Regions from separate parts of the Homo sapiens genome. Here all the other regions are linked to region 1. The links are contacts of gene promoters, found by promoter capture Hi-C in blood cells and fetal thymus (Javierre and others, 2016). All regions are on one chromosome and are shown on one strand. The core of a region is centred on a gene start or on the middle of the fragment in contact, and the rest is flanking DNA. Distances in the headings are between cores, read along the strand shown.

Region 1 (2,716 bases), core at 132-2,631:
CTCTACTAAAAACACAAAAAAAGCCGGGTGTGGCGGCGGGCGCCTGTAATTCCAGCTACTTTGGAGGCTGAGGCAGGAGAACTGCTTGAACCCGGGAGGTGGAGGCTGCAGTGAGCCGAGATCGCGCCACTGCACTCCAGCCTGGCGACAGAGCAAGACTCCGTCTCAAACAAACAAACAAAATCCCACAAAAATTAGCTGGCGTGCTGGCGCAGGCCTGTAATCCTAGCTACACGGGAGAATGAGGCAGGAGAATCGCTTGAACCCGGAAGGCGGAGACTGCAGTGAGCCGAGTTCGCGCCCTTGCACTCCAGCCTGGGCGACAGAGAGAGACTCCGTCTCAAAACAAAAACAAAAACAAAAACAAAAGCAAAAAACCAAACAAAAAAATCAGCGCTCGGGCCCCCTCCCATGGCCAGCTCTTGGGGCGGGGGACTGGTAAGGGAGGTTTACCCCAGCTGGTTCTAACGTGCAGCCGCGCTGAGAGCGCAGCGGGCGGTGTGGGGCGAGGGGCCCCAGGAGGAAAAAGAAGCCTGCCCCGGGAGGATGCCGGTCCCCGCACGGTCCCACTCAATGGACCCACTCCAGCCGCGCGCTCTGCCAGGGCCTGCGGCCAGGGTACCAGGCCCTCGGCACCTTCCACGTCCAGCGTGGGTCCTCACGGGCAGGTGCGTCTTGGCATCGGGAGGAGGGAGACTGGGGCACTGGAGTCTGCAGCGCCGCCTGGGGCCGGGGCTGGAGCCGAGCGCACGCCCAGAGCTCCGCGCTTCCGACTGCAGCCAGAGCCCGCCGACCCCCGCCCCACTTTAAAAACTTGGACTCGGGCGCCACGTGTTCACTTCCCCCACTGTGCTTTAGTTGAAAAGGGTTTTGTGACTTTTCCACTCGATTGCCGCCAAGCGGGCTATTACGCCGCTTCTGACCCCACCGTGGAGACGCGGGGACTAGAGTGACCATGCCTTCTTCGGAGCGAGCTGTCTCCATCATCCGCTAACGCGCCACCTTTAAAAAACAGGCACAACGCGCAAGCGACAAAGTCAGAGGCAGAGAGCGGCGGAGCACATGATAGAAAAGGTCGAGAGGCACATTCAGCGCCAGGTGGGTGGCTTTTCTCTCCCGCTAGGAGAGCCCAGGGCACCCCATGCTCTCCCTGTGCACCCGCGGCAGTTCGGCACCCCGATCTCACTCTTGCTCCCGCCCCCACAGCGCCTCCCTCGGCGGCGGGGGAAACGGATTAAGTCGTCCGTGTACCCTGGGGACGCACGAGGGAAAGCCCCGGTCCCCCCTCCCGCAACGTCACTCCTCCACCGCGCCACGGCCCGGCCCCGCCCTCGCCGTGAGCTCCGGGGGCACCTGCCGGAGGCTGGGTGCCGGGAGACCGGAAATGCGTGGCTCCGGGCCGGGGCCGCCCGCCCCCGCGTCGCGGGCTCTTTAAGGCCGGCGGTTTTCGCAGCCAGCCCGGGGCGGGGAAAGCGGAGCGCGCGCTCCACGCGGGACCGCCTCCCGGGCCGTAAGTACCGGCGTGGCGGCGCCTCAGCCCGGCCTGGGCGAGCCCTGGGTGCTCCGCCGGGCAGCTCACGGCGCCCCGTATGGCCTGGGGATCCTAAGAGGCCCTGTGACCCCCCTCGCCTGGTCTCCCTCTCACCCCTGGAGGGTTGCCGCAGCTCCGGGGCCCCCGGGCAGGAAGGGCGCACTGGTCGTCCCGGGAGAGGGGTGAGTGGGGGGCAGCTATAGGGGGAGTTCGGGGAGGCCTCCGAGTCCCCGCTGTCCCCGCGAGCCGCTTGGAGGCCCCCAGTGTCGCTCACTTCCAGGGTCGGGGAGACGGAACTGCGGCGACCATGTATTTCTGGTTTATCAAACCGCTAACACCCAGTCTAAGGGCAGGTTCTGTCCCATTGTTATCACTATCGAAGCAGCCGATGGAGGAGGGGAGGTGGGTAGCGAAACCGTAGCGAAAGAACCCGGGCCGCCCGGCTGGCTGCAGCTGCAGTCCGGGCGCCCGGGTCTGGGTTGGAAGCGCTGCTTTCCGCGCTGCTCTGGGGCCCTGGGCGATCACCGCCGCTTCCGCCGCTTGTGTAGTTCTGAATTCACGGAGTGGTAGCAGTGCAGTGTATAGGGTATTCTGCGGAAGTTGGAATGTTCTGGGCTTTTTTTTTCTTCTTCCCCAAACACATCCGTTGACACAAATTCCGAGCCAAATCTCACTCAGATTCGGAAGAGCCATGCAAAAGAAATTGGACAAAGGCTTCCTCCACCTGTTTCTTTTTTTCTTTTGAACTTGTAAACGACCTTAAAAGCATTTGGAGTTAGTTAAGAACAGATAATGTATCTTTTGGCCAGAGCGTCACCCAGGATTCTTTTGCACGGCAGGTCTGAGCAGAGGGCGGGGTGCAGGCGGAATGGCCCTCGTGCCCTATGAGGAGACCACGGAATTTGGGTTGCAGAAATTCCACAAGCCTCTTGCAACTTTTTCCTTTGCAAACCACACGATCCAGATCCGGCAGGACTGGAGACACCTGGGAGTCGCAGCGGTGGTTTGGGATGCGGTAAGTAAGCCCTGGGGGACCTCTGAAAACGTTCACACTTGCAAGACTGGCTTTTATTTTTTATTTTTTTTAGAACAGCTTTATTGAGATATAATTCACATAGCATACACTTTACCTATTTAAAGTGCACAATTCAGTGCGGTTTTAAAAATACAGTATATTCACAGAGT
Region 2 (2,716 bases), core at 91-2,590, 380 kb before region 1:
GTATTGGCCATTTGTTATCAAGCACTTTAAACTTTATTCTAAACCATGCATGTGAAAAATGATTATTTTCTGTAAAAACCAAGTGATTTTTTCCTGAGATTAACTCAGTTTTAGTTTTGTGAGATAATTAGATAAACACAGTCCTGTATTGAATTTAGAAACACAGCCTCTATTACTCAGGCTCAAGTAGAAGATTCTAAATAGTTATATAAACTGATGACATCTTTAAGTCTACTTCCCCAGCCCTTTCTGGGTATCTTGCATATTTGGTCTCACTGTACTTCCTTGTTACATTCACTGTTGCAGTCAGCCACACTAGCTGGCTTGGCCCTGATGGAACCTACTTGCACCTCACCTGTGACTCCTGTTGCAGTTGGAGGCTGATAAAGTTTTTATCATGGAAGTTTTTGCCTTCTTCCTCTCAGTCCCAAGATAAAGCTAATTCAAGTGGTTCTTTTGTTTGTTTTCTAGTCAGTGTTCTCTGCCATGGAGGCAAAGGGAGATGGAAAACATCAAGTCTGCATTTTTAGACATTTCGTAACTGAAGTTTGTGTCTTCCTGCTTTGTTTCTAAGAGCAAGACATATTGGATCTCTGGTGGTTTTATGAAAATGGGCCATTTTGGTTTTCCAATTTCACATAAAGGTGCAGTAACACTGCTGCCTTCAGTCGCAAAGCAATCTGAGATTTAAAGTGCCATGCTTATATTTAGTTAGGTTTCTGAGGCAGCAAATGTCTCAATGATTTTGCAGGTGGCAAACAATAAACATGTGCAGAGATGTACTGAAAAATGCTTTAAATGGATTGTTGGGACTACTTCAAAGGGAACATCTCATTACTGGTGTTGTAAAGAGCTTGAGCTCTAAGTCATTGGAAAATGAACCCAGCCAAGTTGCTGATAGTGTAGTGGTTCACAGGACAATTCCTAAGTAATGCATAGGTGCTTTGGTTTCTATAAAAGGTCTGAGTGAGGTTTTTGCTACCTGATCTTTGCCATATTATTTTTTAAACCCAGGTTTTAATAGTTAGGAAGACTTTTCTACCAAGAAAAAAATGTAAAAGCTTGAGTCAACATAACGTTTCGGAAAGTATGTCAAATTTTACTGAAATGAGCCTATAAGGAATTCAAATATAATTTTGCCAGGAAACTAGAGTGGTATATATACTTACAGATGTCAGTGGCTTGAAAATATACTGTTTATTCAGTTATTCATTTGGCAAATGCTTACTGAGTACCCACTGTGTACTAACCACAGTTCTAGGCCCAGTGAGAGTTACACAAATGGAAGAGGGCAGAATTGCTGCTTTCAAGTTCCTCTAAGTCCAGTAGGTAGGCGTGTTACTTGATATCAGGTAAGTTACTTGATATCATTGAGCTTCCTCATTCGTAAAATGAGGGTAATAGTACTCACATTGTACATTTTGGGGCTTAGAGATATGAAATACCAAGCGACATACCTGGCACAAAATAGGCTTTTGATAACCTGTAATTATTGTCATCGTCATTTGAGAAGGAACATGCAGCATATAGTATATGTTGTGGGGGAGGTACCAAAGATATTCAGTGGCAGTTTAAAGAAAGAACAGACCATTTTAGGATCAGGGACCCAAAAAAGCTTGCGGAAGAGGTGGCATTTGAGCTGGGCCTTGAAGAATAGAATTTCAGTAGGTTGAGGTGGGAAGAGGGTATTTCAGAGATAACTGCAAGCCTTTCCTGAAATAACTGGAAAAGCAATAGCATTCAGTTTGGAGGTAAAGAGTGTGTGAATTGAAGTAGAAAGTTGGAATGGCAAACTAGCCCAAGATTGTGAAAGGCCTAGAATGTCAGGTTAAAGAGTTGAACCTTGTTGTCAATGGGAGCTTCGTCGAAGGGTTTCCCTGGTGCCCAGAACAGTGTCCCCCCCATAGTAGGCACTCAGCAAATACTTACTGAATAAATAACTGAGTGTAATTTTAGACAAATGGAGCTTAGTAAGCCAGGTAGAAATGTCTTACAAATAGCTGGGAACATAGGACCAGAAGTCAATTCTGAGATTGAGACTGAAGGTAGAAATTTGAACAGCGTGAATATAGAAGAAGTTATTGGAGTTGCACGTGTGGATAACTTGATTTAAGGAGAACATCATGTAGCTCTAGCCAGAGAAGAGAGCTCAGACAACACCCCTATTTGACCAGGAAGGGAAGGAAGAAGATGGAGACTAAGTGGGTAGAAATGAGAAGAAAACTTCAGTGAATGTGGTACCCACAAAACCCTGGGAGGAAACTTTTAAGGAGGGGCTGGTTAACAGCACAAGGAATTTAAGGACTTTGGGAAACACTAATGGCTGTGTAACAAGGAGGTCCCTTGGTGGCTATAGAAGAGAAGTTCAATTGAGTGGGGTCTTGTGTCAGGTTGTAAGGTATAAGTAGGCACAGCACTCCCTGGGACATTTTTTTTTGTCTGTTTTTTTTTTTTTTTTTTTTTTTTGGCAAGGTTAGTATTTACTGGTATTTGATTTTTTTGGAGCATACATTTAAACAAACAGTGTGCCCAAACTGTGTATATAGTTTTGATTCCAATTAAATATTGGATAAAAGTACACCTATTTATTTTCACTGAGTTATGAGATCATGACTGATTTTTATTTTCTTTTCCATATCTGTCACTATTTACCAGAGTTTCTACAAGTATTTATTACTTTTAGAACTGGAAAAAAATTATATAAATTATTTTTATT
Region 3 (2,716 bases), core at 101-2,600, 370 kb before region 1:
AAGTGGCACAAATAGTAAGGCCAAAATATCACTGTAATTTTTCTTTTATCTGACAGATAACTATTGAGCACTTAGTGAATGTCGAGGACTTATGCAATAAACACTTCACAGGATACCCAGGGGTAGGTGGTCTTGGGGTCATCCAGGACCTACAGGCTTTCCATCTTTTTGCTTTGTTTTCCTTGGTATATTGGTGATTTCTCTTCTCTCCCATCATTGGTACAAAGTGGCTACAGCTGCCCCAAGGATCATTTTAAAAAACATTTTCCTAACTTCCCAAATGTGTTAGGATCATTTTCTTAAATACCAACAGTAAAAACCAGGAAGAGAGAGAGCAGGGCATCTCTTCTGGGTCTTTTTTTCCAGAGGCTCCCAATAGCACCCGCTCCTTGGCCAGAACTGGGTCACATGTCCACCCCTAAGGCAATCTCTGGCAAAGGAAAATAGGATTACTGTGATTGGATTAAACAAATTATTATTCTTTTTACAGGGCAGGGGAGAGGCCATCTTTCCTGAGCATATTGCCCCCATACCTGAACAAAATTAGGGTTCTGTTAATGAAGGCAGCTGATAGGTTTTGCCTTACATGTGGATGTGCTAGTGGGATTTCTAGGATCTCTTCCAGCTCTAAGTCTCTATAATTCTGTAGGCTGCATCAAGAAATTGTAATGGAATGCCATTTATGCCTAAAATCCAGCAGCCTAAGTATGGGAGGGTCTTTTATATTTAATTCCTATAGATTAGATATATAGAGCCAAAAGCTCACCATGGCAAAGAATAAGCATGGTTTGAAAGGTGATGTTTGGAATTGTTTCCTGGGTCCAAAACCTCAACAGAGGCTAAGGCTTGCCCTCATCACAGAAGACAGAAAATCTCTGCTTTTAAAAAGTTGGATCTGTGATCTCCTAGTCAGGTTCACACTTGAGAAAAATTGGCCAGGAATGTATTGACTTATGCTCTATCACTGTTGCCCATAGCAAAGAACTGGATGGAAGAGATCCCTAAACTGGTATATCTAGTTAATGTTAATATGTAGCCAGATATGTTACAGGTCTGTTTCCACTAGAGCTGACATAGGTAATCTTTTTCCTAGGTTTATGAAGGGAAAATGAATGGAATATCCTCTTTTTACCCAAAAAGAAAGTCTCCAAAGTAGCCATAGAAAAGACTAGTTCATTTCTACCAGAACAAATTTGTTAATAAAAATATCTGTGGAATACCATCTGTGTACTCCACTGGCCAACACTGTACGAGGGCCTGTGGAGCATATTAAATATGTGCAAGACACAGTCCAGCTTTGATTCCTGTAGTATCACTCTCTTCATGTTCTTTGCTATGGACATGTGTGGCAGTGTCATGATTAGTGTGCCCCGATGTGCCTGTAATGAGGAGAACAAAGACCTAAAATTAGTTCATTTTTTCCGTTTGTTTCTGGCTTGAACATAGTCGAGTACTATAATATGAAACAAATTGACTTGGAAAACTGTATTTTATTAACCAGGAATGCAAAGAAAAGAGTGATGATTGTGACTCAGAATGCCAGAGGAGTCTTCATTGAGGAAAGGCTATTTCAGCTGAGCTTTGAGGATTGAGCACAAAGTCAAGGTGGAAAGAACACAGCGTATGTATGAGATGGTCAGGAGGCTAACCTAGAACAGGGGTACATTTTGGAGTAGTGAGCTGAGACTTTGGAGGACCTTCAAAGCCATATGAATAGACTTACTGTGATATATTTGGCAAGAAGCAACCACACATGTCTTGAGACTCAAGATTAAAAGGGTATTTAATAAGAAATATGGAAGTTGGTGGGGTGAAAGTGGTGATAGGGTAGCAGGGACCCTCCTTTTCAGTGGCTTTATGTGTCCATGTAAAGGGACGTCAGCTGGAATAGCACTCTTGGCCTCCGTCCATCCCTTTGCACACCCCACCCATGAGAAGGAGGAGTGACTTATTGGCAAGTTTAGGAGAGGAACCAGGTAATTCAGCTGCTGTCCTAAGAGCACTAATTCTGGTCCGCTCCCCCAGATCTGCTCCTCCATGCCATCAGCCCTTCATGGGCAGTTTCCCAGGAGGGGAGGCCTCTGGCTATCCAGTGATGCTTGTGACTCAGAGGTAAGTCTCTGAAATCCTGGGGTTCAATTTGCTGCTACGCAACTAAGTTGCATCCTCCAACTGTCTGATGTTTTGATCCCCATGTATCTGACCACCCTCTGTCTATCTCAATTGGTTCAAAAGTTGGGTGAGGAAAAGGAAGGCTCTTCAGTGGGTCTCCTCAGGCCCCAACAGTGCATGGAATGATTGGTAGGTGGAAAGAACTAAGGGATGGAAACCAATCAGAAGGTCTGCCAGGCGTCATGATGTGTGATGAGGACTCAGATTAGTGTTGAGGACTCAGATTAGTGTGATAGTGGCAATAAAGAGAAAGTGGGACTTGTGAAAAGGAAAAGAAAGGCTGTAATTGGGGATAGATGGAGGATAATGGATGAAGGAAAGGGAAAATCTAAGTGAAGGCCCACCATCTGGAATGCTCTTTACCCCTTCCTGCCGTCTCTGAATATCAATTCTATCCTGTCTTCAAAGTCTACCTCAGATACCACCTCCTTCTCAAGACTTTTAAGAACTTCCCAGGCAAAAGCCCTCTCTTTCTTCTCTTGCGTGTTAGAAGGCTCTGAGTACTTTATGCTGCATATTGCAGATACTTTGGGGCCCATCTTTT
Region 4 (2,716 bases), core at 76-2,575, 340 kb before region 1:
GGCATACAAATGAGGCAGCCGTGAAGCCAGCATTTGTGTTGCTATGGCTACATGAAAACCATTTACAAGATTGGTGCAGTAGCTCATGTCAATAATCTCAGCATTTTGGGAGGCTGAAGTGGGAGGATTGCCTGAGGCCAGGAGTTTGAGACCAGCCTGAGCAACATAGCAAGACCCTGTCTCCACCAAAAAATAAAAAATAAAAAAAATAGCCCAGCCTGGTGGCTGATGCCTGTAGTAGTCCCAGCTGTGCAGGAGACTGAGGTAAAAGGATTATTTGAGCCCAGGAGTTCCAGGCTGCGGTGAGCTATAATCATGACACTGCACTTCAGCCTGGGTGACAGAGTGAGATCCTGTCTAAAAAAATAAAAATAAAAGAAAGAAAAGGAAAGCTTTTACAAAACAGATCCATAAAGAAGAGGTAATATTCTTGCTGCACTCTGCCCTGGCCAGACCATATCTGGAAACTTCAGTTATGTATGCTGTTCTTTAAGAATACACATCCTAGGCTGGGTGCGGGGTGGCTCACGCCTGTAATCCCAGCACTTTGGGAGGCCGAGGTGGGTGGATCACGAGGTCAGGAGATCGAGACCAGCCCGGCCAACATGGTGAAACCCCATCTCTACTAGACATAAAAAAAAATTAGCCGGGCATGGTGGCAGGCACCTGTAGTCCCAGCTACTCGGGAGGCTGAGGTAGGAGAACCTCTTGAACCCGGGAGGTGGAGGTTGCAGCGAGCCAAGATTGAGCCACTGTACTCCAGCCTGGGCGACAGAGGGAGACTCCGTCTCAAAAAAAAAGAAAAAATACTCATCCACATCTATTGATGTGTGATAGTGAAGGAGCTAAAAACCGTAGCATGCAAATCAATGTAACCTAGAATAGGGAAGACACAAGTATTATCCCCTCATGTTTGAAGGCTGTCACTTAGAGGAGAAAAGAGGGTTACTATGTGTAATCCTGTTGGGCCAAGGTAACAAAAATATGCAGAGTGGATTGTATTTTTTCTTATTTAAGAAAACTTGATGGCCATGGGTGAAAATGAGTAGAATGGCAAGAGGCCTGGAATTTTGACCTTAAGACAAGTCATTTAACTTGTCTGATTTAGAATTTTCTCATCTGCAGGATAGAGATTTATTCATTCAGCCTTTCTGCAAATGTTTATGGAAGCCTTACTATGTGCTAAGCACTATGCTTTCTGCAGAGTGAACAAGGCAATCAGTCTCATTTTGTGTCCTTACAGAATTTGAAAACTGGAAGCCAGACAAATAAATAAGTAATTATAACACACAGTTGAACTCAAAGGTCTTAGACTTTCCTTCCAACTCTTCCACCTCTGTCTGGCATATTTTAGAGGGACTGACTTTGCTCTGTGTGGTTCCTTTTATCTCTCATTTTGTGATCCTTTGAATGTCTATAGAGGGTTAGAGAAAATGAGATTAATGTGGTCCTTCATTTAAACTTTATTTAATAAGTAATACGTTTTTCCTTTGGGGAAGAGAACTTAAACTAGTAGAAATATCAATTGACTAAGGAGACAGGACATGGAAATTCTTTTCCTGGCTCTGATGTCTATCATTAAATAAATTACTTTACTTTTTGCAGTCTTAAGTTTCTAGGCCAGGAAATAATTTTAAATAAAAATAAATGTATAAGAAGAATATGAATACATACTAAAGCAGTAATGCGAGTCTATGGAAGAAGAATGTTATATAATTTGTGTTTTAAACTATTTCATATCCTAAAATTCAAAGAGATTTGATCACTTTATATAAGTAGGCCCTTTGATTTTATAGGATATAAATTTGCTTTTTTGATTTATTCCTGGTATTCTCATCATAGAAGTCACATGTTGGTCTTTGATATGTTTCAGAAGAATAAAATCATTTTGAATTTCAGAAGATATAGATCTTTTGATGGACCTTCCTGAACTTCATAGGCCATAGCTGTGCTGTCGTTTTTTTTTTTTTAAGCCGTTCATTTCTCCTAGTCTTTGTTGCTATACTTTGGTCTGGAAAGTTCTTGTCCCTTTTTGTAGCTTCCTTTTTGGTTAACATTGTTCTCATCATGTGTTCATTTCCGGCGTAACTTCTAAAGAGAGTGTTAATGTACCATTGGATTCCACATTGACTTCAAAGTTTTTATTTACTGACCTTTCACTGGGAGAGAAACTGGTGTAGGTACAGTTTTAAGATAAACTTGGGCAGGTTAAGATTCTCCTTAATTTCTAGCTAAGTTCCTTGAAAAACTAAGCTTTTCATGGACCTAAGAATAAAAGCTACTTGAGAGTTTCTAAAATCTATTATACTCCCTGAAGACAGAAACATACTTAAGTGAAAAACTTGCCATTTTAAAATATATCCACTAGGTAAGGAAATCTAGTAATATAGCAGTACCAACTTATTTCTTGCATTAATATTTTCATCTAATCATTTGTACATTCAGCAAACTTGGACCACACACAGTCCCAGAAATTGAGGTGTGGGGGTAAAGTACAGGTTAATTTTGCAGTAGGATAAATGCCTGTATGTATGGCTATCCATCTTTATACCTTGAAATATGTTAACATAAAAAAGTTTTAATTAAATTACAGTAATAAAAACCCAAAGAGCGTGAAACTCCCTCCCTTTTTTCAGGTGAAAAATGGAGCAAGCCTGAAAAGCAGTGAGATCAGGAGGACAGCTGATGTTTGACCATGTTCGTTATGGTTCTGCAT

Evidence for each region. The method cuts DNA at HindIII sites, captures the fragments that hold promoters and counts their contacts. A CHiCAGO score of 5 or more calls a contact.
Region 2: a fragment that was not itself captured here is called in contact with the fragment with the promoter of METTL21A in region 1 in 4 of 17 cell types (M2 macrophages, total CD8 T cells, M1 macrophages and 1 more); the score reaches 6.7 in M2 macrophages.
Region 3: a contact is called between a fragment that was not itself captured here and the fragment with the promoter of METTL21A in region 1, in 1 of 17 cell types (total B cells). The highest score is 5.4, in total B cells.
Region 4: a contact is called between a fragment that was not itself captured here and the fragment with the promoter of METTL21A in region 1, in 1 of 17 cell types (total CD8 T cells). The highest score is 5.7, in total CD8 T cells.

Annotation. Positions count from the first base shown.
Region 1 is chr2:207,624,059-207,626,774 of GRCh38, reverse strand. METTL21A (methyltransferase 21A, HSPA lysine) reads left to right here and starts at 1,381. Exons shown (of 4, transcript NM_001127395.5): 1 at 1,381-1,713; 2 at 2,371-2,546. The coding sequence starts at 2,400. RefSeq lists enhancers at 1-210, 211-915 and a silencer at 1,186-1,785. The HindIII fragment of the contact is 10,824 bases long and covers 1-2,716 here.
Region 2 is chr2:208,008,252-208,010,967 of GRCh38, reverse strand. The region is part of intron 1 of PLEKHM3 (pleckstrin homology domain containing M3); the gene reads left to right. Among named protein-coding and RNA genes, the nearest start is that of PLEKHM3, 16 kb to the left of the region's middle. The HindIII fragment of the contact is 554 bases long and covers 1,064-1,617 here.
Region 3 is chr2:207,989,250-207,991,965 of GRCh38, reverse strand. The region is part of intron 2 of PLEKHM3 (pleckstrin homology domain containing M3); the gene reads left to right. Among named protein-coding and RNA genes, the nearest start is that of PLEKHM3, 35 kb to the left of the region's middle. The HindIII fragment of the contact is 8,087 bases long and covers 1-2,716 here.
Region 4 is chr2:207,964,646-207,967,361 of GRCh38, reverse strand. All of the region lies in intron 3 of PLEKHM3 (pleckstrin homology domain containing M3), which reads left to right. Among named protein-coding and RNA genes, the nearest start is that of PLEKHM3, 60 kb to the left of the region's middle. The HindIII fragment of the contact is 1,861 bases long and covers 395-2,255 here.